Linked DNA regions of Homo sapiens: region 1 is linked to region 2. Evidence: promoter capture Hi-C in 16 types of primary human blood cells and fetal thymus (Javierre and others, 2016). All regions are on one chromosome and are shown on one strand. The core of a region is centred on a gene start or on the middle of the fragment in contact, and the rest is flanking DNA. Distances in the headings are between cores, read along the strand shown.

Evidence for each region. The method cuts DNA at HindIII sites, captures the fragments that hold promoters and counts their contacts. A CHiCAGO score of 5 or more calls a contact.
Region 1: a contact is called between a fragment that was not itself captured here and the fragment with the promoter of HMHB1 in region 2, in 1 of 17 cell types (monocytes). The highest score is 5.1, in monocytes.

Annotation. Positions count from the first base shown.
Region 1 is chr5:143,341,758-143,345,206 of GRCh38, forward strand. The region is part of intron 2 of NR3C1 (nuclear receptor subfamily 3 group C member 1); the gene reads right to left. Among named protein-coding and RNA genes, the nearest start is that of NR3C1, 60 kb to the right of the region's middle. The HindIII fragment of the contact is 1,406 bases long and covers 1,004-2,409 here.
Region 2 is chr5:143,810,064-143,813,411 of GRCh38, forward strand. It overlaps HMHB1 (histocompatibility minor HB-1), which reads left to right and starts at 2,098. Exons shown (of 2, transcript NM_021182.3): 1 at 2,098-2,241. The coding sequence starts at 2,205. The HindIII fragment of the contact is 5,854 bases long and covers 125-3,348 here.

The DNA.
Region 1 (3,449 bases), core at 457-2,956, 470 kb before region 2:
AAGACCCACTTCAAATACTCTGTGGTCAAATATAAAATTATAATTTACAACAGATAATATATTCAAATGCCCTCAAATTTTATTATGAATTGAACTGAAATATTAGTACTATGGGCTTAACATCAATAATTTTATAGCAAAGAAAATACAGAGAGGGAGGAGGGGCAAAATGAATGTCTTTTTATCACATGTCCTGACTCACTTCTACTGGTGCTTGTCCAGGATGATGCAATTATTGAATCATAAGCTGTTCCACTGATGCCATGTTCAAAATGACAAGTCTCAGTCTCTCAGACTTTCAACAAGAATCTACGACAGCCACAGTCAAAACAGTATGAATAACAAAAAGGTGCCATGCAGGTGTTTCACAGAAAAAAAAAAACCAAGAAACTATTACATTTTAAGAATTAAAATTTCTTTCCTTCTGGTTACTTCGTTTAGTCTGTTCATTTTTTATGATCATACTATAATGACGGAGGCTAACTCTTGCTTAGTACGTGGCAGGCACTATGCCAAATCATCTACAGGAATTATCTTGGTTATTTTAATCTTGGCAACATCTCTGAGAATGGGTTCTATTAATATCCCCACTTAAGGGATAAGGAAACTGAGGCTTAGAAGGTCTACTGTCCAAGGTCACCAAGGTGGTGGCTCTGTGAGAACTGGAATCTAGATTCTCAGACCTCCAGGGGAGGAGTTTACTCAATGCATTCTGTTGTTGCTCTCCATATTGATGACATATCAATGACATTTATTATGGAAAAACATTTGCTGAATCAATTTAAGAGAAGTTGGAAATGTCAGTAAAAACCTTCATAGCAGTATGAGAATATGTTTCCAAAAACCAGGAGAAGGAGATGCCCCAAAATGTTTTAAGAAGGAATCAGAAAGTCCTGAGCAAGGAAGCATCGAAAAATGATCGAGTTCCTAGCCAGGAGCCAGGAAATGTGCTTTGTAATTGGAATTATAACTGCCCTGAGTAAAACAGATTGTGTTTTCATGAAGCTTCAACAGCTCATTGTAGGAGACATACAAGGAAAAGGCCAGTTAAAATACACTGTGATTCATGCCGCCATGTGAGAATATCAAAGGACCTTTAGACATAGAGAGGTGTCAGAGAAGTCTTCTGATTTGCTACGAGCTGGAAAGGTAAGTAGAGAGGGAAGTCGAGGAAGAGAAGACAGTCATGTGTGAAGTTTCCTGGCACCCAGAGTATAGCTCTTTTAGGGGAACCCAAAGACAACAGAAGATGACAAAAAAATATACTAAATAACACTAGAAAACACTGTCCAACCAAGGTTCTAAGTGATCTGAAAGTCACAGGTTAAATTTCATAAGGACAAATATAAGATAGCATCTAGGGAATGGAAAGTGACAAGCACAATGGTCATACTGCCTTTTCATATTTAGAATGGCACAGTATTCTAGTGCAATGCAGAGCCCAGAACTAGGAAATGGGCAACTACTGGGATTCCAGATATCTTTCTATCACCAACTCACAGGGTGACAATCAACAGCTCTTTCAGCTTCCCTGGGTTTCGGCTCCCTCTTTGGTAACTCATGGATAAAGCTAATTGTCTAGCAGGAGGCAGGTTGCTTGACCTGATAGTCTCCTCGGGACTTTCTAAAATCAATGACTCTCTAACTCAGATACATGATGGCTAACAACCAGGGATGAACAACAATACTATCTTAATGAGAACCACTAATAGAAATTAACACTATGTGTGAGGTAGGTACTATTATTATCCCCATTATATAGACAAAGAAAAATGCAAACTCAGAGAAGTTAAATTATCTGCACAATTTCATATAACTAGCCATTAGTGGAGTCAGAGTTCTCTTTCAGGCATCCCAGCTACAGAGTCCATATCCCTAACCATCAGAATATGCCATATGCTTCCTCTTTCTTACAAGTTGCAATATTCCCAGTATTGTTACTCTGTGTGTATTTATGATACGTAACTTTTTAATCTTCATAATATTCTTGGAAGGTGTTATTCCCATTCAGAGATGAAATCAAAACCTTGAGAGTTCCTACAGGGATTTAGTTGTGGCACTGGGCCTAGATTTTATCATGACCTCTATCACTATGCTCTTTCAAATACAGCAAATTATAGAGATTAAATAAACCAGCATCATAGATAAATGAACTGCAAATCTCATTCACTCAATTTTTTGTCATCAATTAATTTATAAAAAGAATATTAGTATTAACAAAAGATATTTTACTTTTATAAATCAGTCACTGTCAGCTATTTTTTTTTCTAAATTGTAGAATTTTACTAATTATGTTCCTTTTGGACTGTATAAGATGTAGCACCTTTAAGTTATTTAACTATGACATAGTGCTTAGAATTTAAACATTTTTAAACATTATATTTTGCTATGGCTCATTTGGAAAATCTAAGCTTTAAAAAGACTAAGACAAATTAGGTAAGAGAGAAAAAGTAGACTCCCAACAATTTTTCATACCCATATCGTACAAAAGTTTGCTTTTCTAATATTATAAAGCCAATTCTTAAATTTTATTTCAGCATGTCCTGATAGTACACAGGTGAAACCAAACAACCACCACATCAAAATAATAGCAAAGACAACAACTAATACTAATTAGTTATTATGGTCTAAGTACTTTATTAATTCTAATTCTTACAAAAACCTTATGCATTATTACTAGCCCCATTTTATGAATGAGGACATTTAAGCTCAGAAAGGGTTGCTAACTTTCCCAAAGAAAGTCACACAACTAGAAAATAGCCATACGGCAGGTCTTTGAATAATGTTTTGTTCAACATTGTTTTAACGTTGATGAGAAAAAAAAAATGATGCTGACTGGGCGCGGTAGCTCACGCCTGTAATCCCATCACTTTGGGAGGCCAAGGCGGGTGGATCACCTGAGGTCAGGAGTTCCAGACCAGCTTGGCCAACATGGTGAAACCTTGTCTCTACTAAAAATACAAAAATTAGCCAGGTGTGGTGGCGGGCGCCTGTAATCCCAGCTACTTGGGAGGCTGAGGCAGGAGAAACTCTTGAACCCGGGAGGTGGAGGTTGTAGTGAGCTGAGATCACACCACTGCACTGCAATCCAGCCTGGGTGACAGAGTGAGACTCCATGCCCCACCCTCACCCCCCACAAAAAAAAGAAAAAAAACTGATGCCTGCCCAGCTCTGTCCAGGGCCACTGTCTGTGTAGAGTTGGCTCGTTCTTCCCATGTCTGTGTAGTTTTTCTCCAGATACTTCGCTTTCCTCCCACATCCCGAAGCTGTGTGTGATACGGTAACTGGCATGTCTGAAGGGTCCCAGTTTGAGTGTGAGTGTGCATTTGAGTGCACCCTACAATGGGGTGGCGTCCTGTCTATAGGGTCAGTTGCTCTGAGCTATGAGTATAAGCTGCAGGCCCCCTGGACCCTGAACTGGAATGAACACATTGGAAAATGAATGAATA
Region 2 (3,348 bases), core at 848-3,347:
AATTTTTAACATTTTGATAACTGTATTCAATATAATTGGCTCTTTATAATTCTATATATTTTCTTTTATACTTATAAAAATGATGATTCTGAGACAGAGTCCAGGGGCCTTACCAGAGTGCATAAGCTTCCCAAAGCACAGAAAGTTAGACCTCCACACCTCCACAAATAGATCTAATTTCAGGGCAAGAAAAGCAGTGATGATGCTTTATGACCATATGTTCTTTTTGACAAAAAAGCAGTCTTTAACAGTTTTGGCTAATTGCAAAAAGCCAATGCATTCTCAAAGGAAAAAGATATGCCAACACTGAAGATACTTTTGAGAAAATTCCATCATCAAAGAAGATGGTTTTTGTTTTTTACAGACCCAGTCTTTCTCTGTCATCCAGGTTGGGGTGCATTATTGGAGTGATCATGGCTTACTGCAGCCTCAAACTCCTGGGCTCAATTGATCCTCTGGCCTCAGCCTCCTGAGTAACTGAGGCTACATGTATGCACCACCGTGCCTGGCTAATTTTTTATTTTTTATTTATTATTTTTTTTTGTGTGGGGATGAGGTCTATGTTGACCAGGCTGGTTTCAAACTCCTGGGCTCAAGCGATCCTGCTGCCTTGGCCTCCCAAAGTGCTGGGAATTACAGGTGTGAGCCACAGTGCCTGGCTAAGATGGAGTTTTATATACAGAATTATCAGGCCTTCTTTCATATCTCATCCTCAATATGCAAATAACTAATTCATTTAGCAAATATTTATTGAACGTCCATTATGTATGAGGCACTATTGTAAGTATTGGAATAAGTGCAGTGAACAGGTCAGATATGGTAACTGCCTGGATGGAGTTTATGTTATAATGGAAGCAAATAGACACAAGAAATATGATCGCATCAGGTATTTATAAGTGTTATGGTGAAAATAATGCAGAGTAATCTAATCTAGGGAGTGAGAGGGTGACTAGGGTCACCCATGTGGTGGCTAGGTGCCTGGGTCTGGCGTTGCACTTCTTCCATTCAAATCCTGGCTCCATGCACCTCTGGCTCTATGGCCTTGTCCAGTTGTGCACTCTCTAAATCCCAGTTTTGTTACCTGTAAAATGGACATATTAACATTACCTACTTTAAAGAGGTGTTTTAAAGAAAATGGCTACTCCTAACATCTCCCCAAGAACCAAGCACAGAATTTTGGAAGTTTTAATATATTTTCTTAAAGAAGTCTCTTTCTCAGCATTGTAAGACAATTAACTAGATTCAAGTCTCAGAGTTGTTAAGTTATTTTATCTTAAGGCATCCAACGGCACAGATTGACATTAAAGTGAAAGAAGAACTAGCTTCATCATTGCCATTGTTCTTTACCATAGCCCATGGGAACACAGGACCCGGCTGACTGAGAAAAGTGAATGAGGGGAATTATATCAGAAATGACAGAGAAGGATGGGCAGGATTTCTGGCAGGCACAGGTATTTCTAAGTAAGAAATGGTGTGGTTAGGAGAGAATACTCTCAAGAAGGGGAGAGATGGATTCTGCGGCAAAGGGAGGTTCCTTCATTCAGTGTTTATGGAGAGAATAAAGGCGCTGGCCCCTCCAGTGAGGATATGGAGTAAACGAGACAATCAAGTCCATCACTCCTGGAGCCTGCATTCTAGTGTGGAAGACAGACAGCAAATGATACATCAACATTAAGAAATTCATGAGTAAATAAAGATAATTTCAGGCAATAATAATTACTCTGAAGAACATAAACAGGGACCTATGATAGAAAAGGGGTGTAAAGGAGTTTGGAGGATTTAAGCTGAGTGAGCAATCTCATCTCTATTTTGATAAGGTCACTGTGGATTCTGTGTGGATAACACATTGGATGTGGATAAGAACAGGAGCAGAGAGACCTCCAATAGCAGGAGGCTGCTCTAGGGGTCCTTGCAAGGGATGCTGGCAGCTTGGACCCGAGTGGTGGGATGCAGATGGAAGAGGCAGGTGGACAGATGAGACAGCTGAAGCAGGAAAAGCAGGCACAAAGGCTAACACAACACAATGTAACAGAACGGGAGTTTAGAACGGAAGGAACACTCCAGAGTCATTCTGGTCCAATTCTGCAGATGAGGAAACCACATCCCAGGAGGCCGAGGCGGCTTGCCCCGCATCTCAGAAGCCGGGCAGGCCCTGAGCCTTCTGACCTCACATCCTCTGCCACACCACAGTGGAGAAACCAGAACTGGAGGAGCAGCCAGAATGCAGAGAAGAAAAAAGAGGTGAGGGAGCGAGGAGGAGGGAGAACAGAGAGAGAGGGAAAGAGGCAGCGAAGGGGCAGAGAAAATGAAAGAAAATGCTGGTGGAATGAGAGGGAAACCACAACAGGTGAAAACAGGGATGGCGGAAGGCAGGGGAGAGGAGTGAGACGGCCCTTGTTGCTGGGATTATTTAGGGCGGATAGTTTCCAGTTGAGGTTCGGTTTCATAGCCCATTGCCTGGCTGCCTGCAGCTGTCAGGGCACCAGAGGCAGCAGTTGGAGCAGCTGCCTGCACCACCTGAGCCACAAGGACAACGGCAAGGGAAGTGCAGATGGGCAGGAAGTCCCTCTGGGTCGGAGCCAGGGTAGCCAAGATCACATTGTTCTTGCCCACCGCGTGGGATGCTCAGGCTTCCCAAGGCAGCCCAGAGACCAGACCCGTCCTTTATCCTTAGCATGGCCACCATCATCACCATCATCGCCATGCTCCCACTTCTTAGGATCATGTGCCGGGGGCTTTGCATGCATTTCTCTCTTTCATCCTCACAGAAGCACTTGAGGGGGGTATAGCTTTCCCCAGTTTACAGATAAAGACACGATGGCTTCATTCCTTAACTCACTAACCTCATTTCAGAGCCAGGAAATGGCAGAAAGGCCCTGCTGTCGTGTTTTTTGTTTGTTTGTTTGTTTTTTTGTCTTGTTTTCTCCTCTTGAAGAGGACACACGGAGCCCTGGGTTGACGTTATAGGAGGTGTTGGTGCCGTGCACTGAAGGGATCTGCTGTTTTCTCCTTCCTGCAACTGGAGGTCACTCAGCCTGGACTGATGAGGCCGGGGAAGCCTGTGCTCTGTCTGGTCCACACAGCCCCCTCAGCCACCCCAGGGAATGCTCAGATCCAGTTGCACAGGTAGCCCACAGAATACAAACAGAACTTTCTTTTAGAATTTTTATGCTGTTTTATTGTTTCATACAGACAACTACCGACCTTCCCTTTTTTCCTTCAAGGCCCCTTTCAAATGTCACCTCTTCTATGAAGGTTTTATTTCTTTCCAGGCAAAATAAACCACTCCCTTTTTGGTGCCCTCATAGTTTTACATTTTGGCCTAAAGCACTTGTTCGCCTCCTCCAT